4 separate regions of the Homo sapiens genome follow, and regions 1, 2 and 3 are each linked to region 4. The links are contacts of gene promoters, found by promoter capture Hi-C in blood cells and fetal thymus (Javierre and others, 2016). All regions are on one chromosome and are shown on one strand. The core of a region is centred on a gene start or on the middle of the fragment in contact, and the rest is flanking DNA. Distances in the headings are between cores, read along the strand shown. Region 1 overlaps SBNO1 (strawberry notch homolog 1). Region 2 overlaps SBNO1 (strawberry notch homolog 1). Region 3 overlaps SBNO1 (strawberry notch homolog 1). Region 4 holds the start of DDX55 (DEAD-box helicase 55).

Evidence for each region. Contacts are between HindIII fragments. The CHiCAGO score rates a contact against its expected background, and 5 or more counts as called.
Region 1: a fragment that was not itself captured here is called in contact with the fragment with the promoter of DDX55 in region 4 in 10 of 17 cell types (total CD8 T cells, megakaryocytes, M2 macrophages and 7 more); the score reaches 7.5 in total CD8 T cells.
Region 2: a fragment that was not itself captured here is called in contact with the fragment with the promoter of DDX55 in region 4 in 1 of 17 cell types (activated CD4 T cells); the score reaches 5.1 in activated CD4 T cells.
Region 3: a fragment that was not itself captured here is called in contact with the fragment with the promoter of DDX55 in region 4 in 6 of 17 cell types (erythroblasts, M0 macrophages, megakaryocytes and 3 more); the score reaches 6.4 in erythroblasts.

The regions. Positions count from the first base shown.
Region 1 is chr12:123,330,011-123,332,882 of GRCh38, forward strand. It overlaps SBNO1 (strawberry notch homolog 1), which reads right to left. Exons shown (of 32, transcript NM_001167856.3): 8 at 1,232-1,365; 9 at 409-499. Among named protein-coding and RNA genes, the nearest start is that of MIR8072, 33 kb to the right of the region's middle. The HindIII fragment of the contact is 8,023 bases long and covers 1-2,872 here.
Region 2 is chr12:123,290,061-123,293,168 of GRCh38, forward strand. SBNO1 (strawberry notch homolog 1) reads right to left here. Exons shown (of 32, transcript NM_001167856.3): 32 at 1-3,108. Among named protein-coding and RNA genes, the nearest start is that of CDK2AP1, 20 kb to the left of the region's middle. The HindIII fragment of the contact is 3,566 bases long and covers 1-3,108 here.
Region 3 is chr12:123,314,141-123,316,980 of GRCh38, forward strand. It overlaps SBNO1 (strawberry notch homolog 1), which reads right to left. Exons shown (of 32, transcript NM_001167856.3): 22 at 1,408-1,520; 23 at 1,233-1,304. Among named protein-coding and RNA genes, the nearest start is that of CDK2AP1, 44 kb to the left of the region's middle. The HindIII fragment of the contact is 8,873 bases long and covers 1-2,840 here.
Region 4 is chr12:123,600,700-123,603,594 of GRCh38, forward strand. It overlaps DDX55 (DEAD-box helicase 55), which reads left to right and starts at 1,400. Exons shown (of 14, transcript NM_020936.3): 1 at 1,400-1,557. The coding sequence starts at 1,450. RefSeq lists a silencer at 1,762-1,871 and an enhancer at 2,112-2,161. The HindIII fragment of the contact is 10,701 bases long and covers 1-2,895 here.

The sequences.
Region 1 (2,872 bases), core at 289-2,788, 270 kb before region 4:
AAGCCATAACTATCTACATCGCATATGATTTGGTGACCTATAGTGCAAGGTATGCCACCTGTCTAAACTGCACCCTTATGGCATATAAACTATAAAAGAAAGATAAAAATAACACTGAAAATTGAGAGAATCAACTGGTGTGCACTGTACACTTGAGAGCACATCTCAATTTGGACTGGTCACTTACACTGTTCAATAGCCACATGTGATGAGTGGCTACTGCCTGTCAGTGTTTAGCATATAGGAATCCACAAACCAACAATAGTGGCTAGCACTCACTATGCTTTCTGTGGAGTAACATCAAAGTTTTCCAAAAAGTGTCCCCTTATATACATAGCTATTATTATTGTCATCTCACAGATGAGTCAATATTTATTGAATGACCAACTGAATAAAAAGATTTCATACCTTATTTAACGAATGAACCAAAATGTTTTTTGCTCCAATATCCCTTAAATCTCTTTCAGCATCATACTTTAAGTCATTTGAAACACTAAACCTGCCAAAATATTAAAAAGCACAAATTAAATACAAATTATATCATTCTAGAATTCAGGAATAAAATTAATAAAGCCAGGTCTTGACACTTAAAAAAAAAAAAAAAAAGAAAAAGAAAATACACTTACTCATTAAAACACCATCCCACTGAGTGCAGTGGCTCACACCCATAATCCTAGCACTTTGGGAGCCTAAGGCAGGAGGACTGCTTGAGCCCAGGAGTTCGAGACCAGCCTGAGCAACACAAGAAGAGCCCGTATCTACAAAAAATTAGCCAAGCATGGTAGTGCATGCCTGTAGTCCCAGCTACTCAAGAGGCTGAGGCAGAACTGCTTGAGCCCCTGAGGTAGAGGCTGCAGTGAGCCATGAATATGCCACAGCACTCCAGCCTGGGTGACAAAGATCCTGTCTAGATGGGGAAGGCGGATCCCATCCCCACATGCTAAAGTAATTACTAACAAAACCTTCCATTGAGACGGAGTCGCACTCTGTCACCCAGGCTGGAGTGCAGAGGAACAATGTCGGCTCACTGCAAGCTATGCCTCCAGGGTTCACGCCATTCTCCTGCCTCAGCCTCCTGAGTAGCTGGGACTACAGGAACCCACCATGACGACCGGCTGATTTTTTGTACTTTTAGTAGAGACGGAGTTTCACTGTGTTAGCCAGGATGGTCTCGATCTCCTAACCTCGTGATCCGCTGCGCCTGGCCCACAGCCAGTTTTTAAACACTTACCACAATGCTCGTTTTCTACTCAACAAATAATTTTCATAGATGATTCCTGCTATCGTCCTTCCTTTTCCTACACCGGCACCATCACCTATTAAGAAGCCAGCACGATCTCCATTAGGTAGGAAAGTTTCATGTTGCTGAAAAACAAAAGGCTGGTAATTAATATAATCCTTCAGATATTTTGGTGATCAATCTTTCATACACTGTTTTAGGAGTAGGAATATGTTATGTTTTTTGTTTTGTATATGTATTTTGTGACTTTATTTTTACATAAATTTCATAGAGTTTTGGATTTTTTTTTGAGACGGAGTCTCGCTCTGTCGCCCAGGTTGGAGTGCAGTGGCGCGATCTTGGCTCACTGCAATCTCTGCCTCCCGGGTTCACACCATTCTCCTTCCTCAGCCTCCTGAGTAGGTGGGACTACAGGCGCCCGCCACCACGCCTGGCTAATTTTTTCTATTTTTAGTAGAAACGGGTTTCACCATGTTAGCCAGGATGATCTCGATCTCCTGACCTCGTGATCCGCCCGCCTCAGCCTCCCAAAGTGCTGGGATTACAGGTGTGAGGCACTGCACCCAGCCAAATTTTATAGTTTTGGCTTTAATGTGGATACTTTCTTTTTTTTCTTTTTTTGAAACGGGGTCTCGCTCTGTTGCCAGGCTGAAGTGCAGTGGCACAATCTCGGCTCACTGCAACCTCTGAATTCCTGTTCAAGCTATTCTCCTGCTTCAGCCTCCCGAGTAGCTGGGATTACAGGTATGCACCACCACGCCCAGCTAATTTTTTGTATTTTTAGTAGACAGGGTTTCACCACGTTGACCAGGATGGTCTCGATCTCCTGACCTCATGATGCACCCGCCTTGGCCTCCCAAAGTGCTGAGATTACAGGCACGAGTCACCGCGCCCAGCTCAATGTGAATACTTTCTACATATTTACTGTATATTATCTCCTGCTACTCTTCCATGCACCAGGTAATGAAAGTTAACAAATTAGTGAGGAGCCCGCCATACCCCTTATCAACACCTGCAGAATCAAACAGGTTTTTGTTTGTTTTTGTTTTGTTTTGTTTTTGAGACAGTTTTGCTCTTGTTGCCCAGGCTAGAGTGCAATGGCACAATCTCGGCTCACCGCAACCTCCGCCTCCTGAGTTCAAGTGATTCTCCTGCCTCAGCCTCCCGAGTAGCTAGGATTACAGGCATGTGCCACCACGCACAGCTAGTTTTTGTATTTTTAGTAGAGACAGGGTTTCACCATGTTGGCCAGGCTGGTCTCGAACTCCCAACCTCAGGTGATCCGCCAGCTTCAGCCTCCCAAAGTGCCCGGCCAGTGGTTTTTTAGTTTTTTTCAGACAGAGTCTCACTCTGTCGTCCAGGCTGGAGTGCAGTGGCACAATCTCAGCTCACTGCAACCTCCACCTCCTGGGTTCAAGTGATTCTCCTGACTTAGCTTCCCAAGTAGATGGCACTAGAGGTGTGTACCACCATGCCTGGCTAATTTTTGTATTTTTGGTAGAGACAGGGTTTCACCACGTTGGCCAGGCTGGTCTCTAACTCCTGACCTCAGGGTGACCCGCCTGCCTCAGCCTCCCAAAGTACTGGGATTGGGCCGGGCACGGTGGCTCACACCTGTAATCCCAGCACTTT
Region 2 (3,108 bases), core at 310-2,809, 310 kb before region 4:
GGGCTTCTTCTTTTCCTTGCTTAGCCCTGCACTAAGGGGCAGTCTTGCTGGACGGTGCCCTGCCACGTTGCGGCAGCCCAGATGGCCGCACTGCCAACCACAGCACGGCTTCCCCATGGGCGCCAGAGGGAGACTGAGCAAGGAGGGTCTGCGTGGAGGATGCACACTGGAGGCAATCTGTGACAGGCCCCAATTCACGACAAATTTAGTTCCCAAGACTGATCCAAATACAGAATGCTTTTACATTTTTCACCAAGTCTACCAAGTTGAATAGTAATGAATGAAACTTGTACATGAATGAAAAGGCCCCAAAGACGCTCACGGCAATCCTTGAAAGTTATAAAGGAACATTTTCTTACAGGTGCAAAATTGTGAACAAATACCCAATGTCTGCCTCCCGGGTGCTCAACACCATCATTTTGATGAACCATCCGGGTCTTCCCAACTCGAATTATTAAAAACGCCTCGATCCCGCTCTGCTTCTAGGCTTACGGCTGATGTAGACAAGATCCACTCACCGATACAAGGGTGGAGAGCACAGCCGTTCAGGGTACCCCAGGGACCAGTGCTGCAATGGGAATCTGCTTGTCTCACCCTCCAGCAGAGTCAGCCTAGGAGGCTCCAGAGCAGTTGCTTGGCTCTCTTTTGGAGGACAATTGTTCCTTAATGTACATTCTCTCTCTTTTTTTTTTTTCGAGACGGAGTCTCGGTCTGTTGCCCAGGCTGGAGTGCAGTGGCGCGATCTGGGCTCACTGCAAGCTCTGCCTCCCAGGTTCATGCCATTCTCCTGCCTCAGCCTCCTGAGTAGCTGGGACTACAGGCACCCGCCACCACGCCTGGCTAAGTTTTTTTTTTTTTTGTATTTTTAGTAGAGACGGGGTTTCACCGTGTTAGCCAGGAGATGGTCTCAATCTCCTGACCTCATGATCCGCCCGCCTCGGCCTCCCAAAGTGCTGGGATTACAGGCGTGAGCCACCGCACCCGGCCAATGTACATTCTCTAAAGTCACCTGTCAATAACACACTAGGCCTGCCTCCTGCCTGCTATAAATATCCTCAACAGGTTATAAACAGCAGCAGGCTACCTGTGTTCATTGCAAGTAAATTACTCATCATTTGTAGGTTAAAAGCATAGGCCCGACTTCTTAAATAAACATAGGGAATTTGCTGCAGCAGCAGGCCAGAAACCACTGTTTCAAATCTGCAAGATTTTCCTATCAGGTGGGAAGACAGAGATAAGAAATATGGTAAGGCCTGAAAAATTGCAAAAGTAGAAGCAAGTCAGGTTTGCTGATCTAAGAGCTAAGTTTGATCCCAAATGCACTGAAGAAGTTAGAGGAGCTTAAAGAAGTCTCAGGAAGCATTTTTTAAAATGTGAAAACATCAGGCTCACTATAGCTTCCAAAGAACAACATAAACGAGCATCAGCAGTCATACAATGACAGTATCAGAAATGGCACTCAAGTGCATCCCCCCAGTACAATGCATTGCACACAACACAATAAGACATAGTAAAAAACATTAACACAAAACAGGAATTCTACAGCAAAGATGCAAAACTGAATTCTAAAATACAGGAACAAATACTTTTCTAAATGAAAAGTTTTCCATACTTTTCTTAAAAAAAAAAAAAAAAAAAAGTCATAAGATGCCCCATATGGGAAAGTCAAGAAAAGAATAAATAGAGCTGAAGGGAAGAGGGAAAAGGGAGAAACAGGTGGGCAGAGTCCCAATTTACAAGAATTATTTACATTCAGAATCCAGAAGAACTCAACATTTCTCTATATATACATTTATGTACATATATATAAATACAGCACAAAATTAGAGGGTGGGTTTTGGATTTTATCTCAAGTACTCAAAAAAAAAATGCTAGCGAGCTTGAGTTGCAGGTATTTAGGTGTGTTTCTGTCACTTAAAAGACACTGCATTTGTATCAGACAACTGGCATTCAATGAGACATTTTTTTTTTTTTTTGCAGTTTTTGCTCTCAGCTGTAGCCCTGACATGAAACGCTTGCTACGTTTCTGCAGCAAAGTGGGCCGAGCGCAGTACGCACAGGTGTGGTGTTAGCCAGGGAGACCGAAGCCACACAGAAGGGGAGTCAGTAAATGTCCATCTCCACGGTGTCTGCCTTTGCCATTGGGAGGCCTGAACTAATCAAACGTTCATTAATAGGATCCCAGCCTAACAGCAACGCTTATGTAGCACCATTCTTAGAAACTACCAAGTATCACACAGGTACATGTGTATGGGGACCTTCCTCTTGACTGCTTGTCAAGAAAAGGATCCAGAGGGAACTTCTGCCCCTACTTCCATGAAGTGAGATGCAACAATCATTTCCAATCTATTTTTTTATCTCATGCTAAAATGAAAGTGGAGGGGAGAGGGAAGAAGGCTCCCATTCTACAATTATAAATGCTGTCCTGGTAGCCTTTCTTCTCTTGCCGGCTAACAATTGTTCTAACAGCATCCCATGGAGGCCAGCAAATGAATGCCCCAGGGACTACAGCCAGAAAATTGTGCCTGTAAAATATCATATTCCTCTGGAGCTTGGTAATATAGAAATTTTACCTCTACAGATGAGGCAAACTAAAATATTGTTGTAACTCAAAAAGGCTTCTGAAGTGCTGAGTTAGAATAAATATATATAGATACATACACACACTACATTGCTTTGGATGCAGGTTCTTACTAATTTATATACACATGTAAAGAGAAGATACTGAAGTGTCTAACTGTAATTTAGCAGCAGAAAAAGAAAACTGCTTAACATATTTGCTTCTTAATCAAGTTGTGTTTAAAGAAATGCATTAATACTCCTATGAATTTGTATCATTGATAGTGTATCTGGATAATCCCAGTAACTACAGACAGAGACCTTGTGGTATGGAGGTTGCTAAATGAGGGGAACACTAATTCCCCCAGAGATAACATCTGAGCTGCTTTAGACTCTGGAAGTGGTTTTCAGTACAATTGACGCTGTAAACTCTGAAAACACGAACATGATTTCCAACCAAATCTTTGTGCTCAGAGCCATATTGCTAAAAAGAAAAAGGCATTGCAGAGGCAAAGTGGACATGGGGTTAATTAAACAAGGCCTCTGAAT
Region 3 (2,840 bases), core at 12-2,511, 290 kb before region 4:
TTCTCAATTATCTTTATATGTATTTATTTATTTTTTCTTTTTTTGGAGACAGAGTTTTGCTCATCGCCCAGGCTGGAATGTAATGGCACGATCTCTACTCACTGAAACCTCCGCCTCCTGGGTTCAAGCGGTTCTCCTGCCTCAGCCTCCCAAGTAGCTGGGATTATAGGTGCCCGCCACCATGCCCAACTAAATTTTTTTTTTCTTTGAGACGGAGTCTTGCTCTGTTGACAGGCTGGAGTGCAGTGGTGTAAACTCGGCTCACTGCAACCTCTGCATCCCAGGTTGAAGTGATTTTCCTGCCTCAGCCTCCCAAGTAGCTAGGACTACAGGCGCACACCACCACGCCCAGCTAATTTTTCTATTTTTAGTAGAGACAGGGTTTCACCATGTTGGCCAGGATGGTCTCGATCTCATGACCTCGTGATCCACCCACCTCGGTCTCCCAAAGTGCTGGATTACAGGCGTGAGCCACTGTGCCCAGCCACGCCCAACTAATTTTTGTATAATTTTTTGAGACAGAGTCTTGCCCTATTGCCCAGGCTGGAGTGCAGTGGCATGATCTCGGCTCACTGCAACCTCCGCCTTCCAAGTAGCTGGGACTACAGATGCATGCCACCACGCCCATCTAATTTTTGTAGAGATGGGATTTCACTATGTTGGTCAGGCTGGTCTCGAATTCCTGACCTCAGGTGACCCACCTGCCTTGGCCTCCTATATTCTGGGATTATAGGTGTGAGCAACTGATCCCGGCCTAATTTTTGTATTTTTTTTTTTTTTTTAGTACAGATGTGGTTGCACCACGTTGGCCAGGCTGGTCTCGAACTCCTGACCTCAAGTGATCCACCTGCCTTGGCCTCCCAAAGTGCTGGGATTACAGACATGAGCCACAGCGCCTGGCCTTTATATATATTTTATACTGCCTAGTTCATGTCTCTACACATAAAAAACATGAGAAAAATTAACTTCCTTTGCTTCTGAGAACTCACAGTTAATTCAGTCTCATTTATTCTTGTTTTCCAAAAGGAATAAAGACAACTACATTGCTGTACTGATACTTAACATGCGATCTAACATACATGTGAAATTCTGTCTTATAGGAAGCCATGATTTTAAAGCAAATGCATAGGAGAGGCAGTTTTGTTTTAGACAGTAACTACTTTCCTTTTGTGTTCCCGAAAGACACCATACACTATCACAAGTTTTCAGAGATACTGAAAATTGAAATGTACCTTATTATCAAAGTTGAACCTGCTCAGATCTCTAGATTCTGTTGCCCTTCTATCACCATGTGTAAGTGCCCCCTGTTAAAAACAAAAATTTCAATCAAGGCACAGGTAACCTTTTACCAGAAAACAGGTACAATAGATCATCATTTACACACAGCCACACAACTCCAAAACTCACCAAACTCTCAAGTCTTTTAGCAACAATAGATGCAAATCTTTGTTCTCCTGCCAGTTCAGATATCAGAAAGACATACTCAGGAGCAGTAACTTGGTTTGATCTATGAGTACGTCCTGCAACGAAATTTTGTTTTAAAGATCATTGATTGTGTTCGCTGGACAGAGAATATTCTGAGATGTATTCCTAGCATTTAACACTAAACTGGTATTGGGAAACCACTAAACAATAAAAATTACAGATAATGTAAAATTACCATAACACACATAAAACTGCTCAATGACAGAAGTATTAGCATTGCTACCCCAATTTTGCTTAACCACATGTTACTGATGCACAATTACTCTGGATTTTCCCAAAATTGTTTTTCAAATCATTGGTCACAAGAACATGAAGATGGAGGGAGGAGCTATGGGCCTTTGGTGAAGCTACTGAGGTTGGAAACACATATAGAAGTAGCAGCTTCTCTGATATGGACCTAATACATCCTTAAGTTTTATAAGGACACTCCTTGAGGAACCCTGTTCTTGGAACCCCACAAATTCCCACCACATATATATTTTTTACAACTTGTAAACAAGCAAAAAATGAATCCACAATGCATCATATACTATAAAGTATATATATAACACTCCTTAAATGCAAGATCTGAGATTTCGAGATAAGATATAAGACATTAAACAGGATTTTTTTGTTGTTGTTAGAGTTTCGCTCTTGTTGCCAAAGGTAGAGTGCAATGGTGTGATCTTGGCTCACTGCAACCTCCGCCTCCCGGGTTCAAGCGATTCTCCTACCTCTGCCTCCTGAGTAGCCAGGATTACAGGCATGCACCACCACGCCCGGCTAATTTTGTATTTTTAGTACAGACAGGGTTTCTCCATGTTGGTCATCCTGGTCTTGAACTCCCGACCTCAGGTGATCCACCCACCTCAGCCTGCCAAAGTGCTGGGATTACAGGCGTGAGCCGCTGCGCCCAGCCTGTTTTTGTTTTTTGAGACAAGGTCACGCTCTGTCACCCAGGCTGGAGTGCAGTGGTGAAATCATATCTCACTGCAACCTTGAACTCCTGGACTCAAGTAATCCTCCTACCTCAGCCTCCTGAGTAGCTGGGACTACAGGCACACGCCACCACACCCAGCAAGTTTTTCTTTTCTTCTTCTTTTTTTTTTTTTTTTTGAGATGGAATCTCCCTATGTTGCCCAGGCTGGAGTGCAATAGCGTGATCTCAGCTCACTGCAGCCTGCGCCTCCCAGGTTCAAGCAATTCTCCCGTCTCAGCACCCTAAGTAGCTGGGATTACAGGTGTGTGCCAACACACCCAGTTAATTTTTGTATTTTTAGTAGAGGCTGGGTTTCACCATGTTGACCAGGCTGGTCTCAAACTATTACCTCAAGTGATGCACCCACCTCAGCCTCCCAAAGTGCTGGGATTACAGG
Region 4 (2,895 bases), core at 150-2,649:
GCGATTCTTCTGCCTCAGGCTCCTGAGTAGCTGGGACTACAGGCATGCGCCACCACGCCTGGCTAATTTCTGTATTTTTAGTAGAGACGGGGTTTCACCATATTGGCCAGGCTGGTCTCGAACTCCTGACCTTGAGATCTGCCCGCTTTGGCCTCCCAAAGTGGTGAGATTACAGGCGTGAGCCACCGTGCCAGGCCAATAATTTCTTTATGGCCAGTTTTTTCACAGAAAGGTGGAGAGAGAGTAATATTTTTAGGTTTTATGGCTGACTGTGGAGAAAAGGGATTCCTGTTTCTATGCTCCGTCATGGGCAAGAGGGATTCTTGAGTTTCTATGGCTAGCCTCAGAGAATCAGAGATCAGAGAGGGAGCAGAAGGTCAGAGAGAAACTTGCTTCTGAGGCTGCCTCTGGGGCCTTCATTTTGGGGTTTCGTTTTCAGAGCCTCAACAGGAGCAAGCCATGCACATAGGTGGAGGAGATAGGCCCTCATAGAGGGCACATAATGAGTGGTCAATAAAAGTTTGCTGAGTGAAGGCCGGGCGCGGTGGCTCACGCCTGTAATCCCAGCACTTTGGGAGGCCGAGGCGGGCGGATCACGAGGTCAGGAAATCGAGACCATCCTGGCTAACACGGTGAAACCCCGTCTCTACTAAAAATACAAAAAATTAGCCGGGCGTGGTGGAGGGCGCCTGCAGTCCCAGGTACTCGGGAGGCTGAGGCAGGAGAAGGGCGTGAACCCGGGAGGCGGAGCTTGCAGTGAACCGTTATAGCGCCCAGCCTCCAGCCTGGGCAACAGAGCGAGACTCCGTCTCAAACAACAACAACAACAACAACAACAACAAAAACAGCTTTCTGAGTGAAGTTGTATGTGGACATGAATGGCCCAGGCAAACAGTGAACAGAGGAATGGGACAGTGTTCTTAGTTAGGACTCTGACCCTAACTTCCGGGAAAGTAAACCAACATTCAGGACGTACCGGCCATCGGACCGCAACATTCAGGACGTACCGGCCATCAGCGGGTGCCTGTTTTGCAGGGCTGCTAACCCGGGTCCCCGACACGTTTCTCTGCCCACGGTAGCCAGCCCCGCTGTCCTTCGGCCTGGACGCGGTCCTGTGCTGCCACCTGCCTCCGAGGGGCAGAGAAAGTGGGAGGGCCGGGCCAGAATCCCTCCCGCCAAAACTCCTGCCCGGTGCGGAGAGGCGCCCGGAGCCCAGGGCGCTGTGCGGAGCGGGTGTAACTCCCCAGGCCTGCCCCGCCGCCTGCCTCCACCGTCCCGCGGACGCCTTTCCTCCCTCCCGCGGCGTGGGAGCCTTCGCCGCGCTCCGGAACTCTGCTGCTCCAGCGAAGTTCCCGGCCGGCCGCTGGAGCTGCGGGAAGCGGAAGTGCTCGTTGGGGGTGCACAAGGCGCGTTCGAGCAGCGGCGACCGACGCGGCGAAGGAGCGCGCCATGGAGCATGTGACAGAGGGCTCCTGGGAGTCGCTGCCTGTGCCGCTGCACCCGCAGGTGCTGGGCGCGCTGCGGGAGCTGGGCTTCCCGTACATGACGCCGGTGCAGGTATCGGTTCCCTGGCGTGGGGGAGTGAGGCTGGGAGAGGGGCAGGCACCCGCTGCATCGGACCCACAGGAGGTGATCGGACAGATCTGAGCCCTGGGGCGCTCATCCCTCCAGCTGGGGCTCTTGCCTTGTCTCCAGCTGCCCAGACTGGCGGAATGCGGAGCTGCCCGGCCAGCGAGCCGGCAGAGGGGCCGCGACCCACCCCGCCCTCGGGTGCTGTGGTCTCAAGCCTGGTTCTCATCCTGGCCCTGCTCGCTGTAGCTGTGAGACCTCGGGCAAATGGCTTAACCTCTCCGTGCTTCATTTTCCTTCTCTGTGAAATGACGAAAAAATAACACCCTCCTTATGGGGTTGCTGTGGGGACTAAATAAACCAGTCGGCACACTATGGGAGCTCAGTAAGGGTTACCGTTGTTATGCATCTCTTCAAGAATATTTCTTGAGGACCTGCTATGTGTCAGGAACTCTTCTAGGCTCTGGGGAGTTTGCAGTATTGGCATCTGCTCATAGCCTTACTTTCTAGTGCAAGAGCTAGAGAAAGGATAATTTCAGCTGCTGGTAAGTGTTATGAAAGAACTAAGACGGTTGTGATAGTGTCGCGCGAGGACTGCAGAGGAGGTGAGATAGGGTGTTAAGGAAGGCCTCTCTGAGGAGGTGCATTGAGCTGAGACCTCAGTGATTGAGAAGGAGCTGGCTCTGAGGTGACTAGGGGGAGATTATTCCACTGGAGAGAAATACCAGTGCACATAAATGCCCTGCGGCAGGCTGCAAATAGTTTGAGCAGCAGAAAGGAGGCCTTTGTGGCTGAACATCAAGAGTAGTGTAAGAGATGGATTGTGCAGGGTCTTGTAGGCGCTTGGATTTCATTCTAAATGTAGTGGGAAGCCATCTTATCTGGGAGGATGTTTAGGAAGGGAAGGGCTGTGATTTCTCTGTAGAGAGTGGCCTTTCCAGGCATAAGAGATGAAGCAGGCAGGTCGCTTAGGAGGCCATTGTCAGGTAAGAGATGATGGTGACTTGGAGTAGGGTGGAACCAGTGGATACTGAGAAGTCACATTTGGGATAGCTTTAAGGTTGCTAAGGGACTGGAAGTGGAGGTTAGGAAAGAAAAGACTACAGGACCTGAGGTTTTTATTCTTTTTTTTTTTTTTTTTGAGATGGAGTCTCGCTCTGTTGCCCAGGCTGGAGTGCAGTGGCGCGATCTCGGCTCACTGCAACCTCCGCCTCCTGGGTTCAAGCAATTCTCTGCCTGAACCTCCCAAGTAGCTGAGATCACAGGTGCCTGCCACCATGCCCGGCTAATTTTTTGTATTTTTAGTAGATACGGGGTTTCACCATC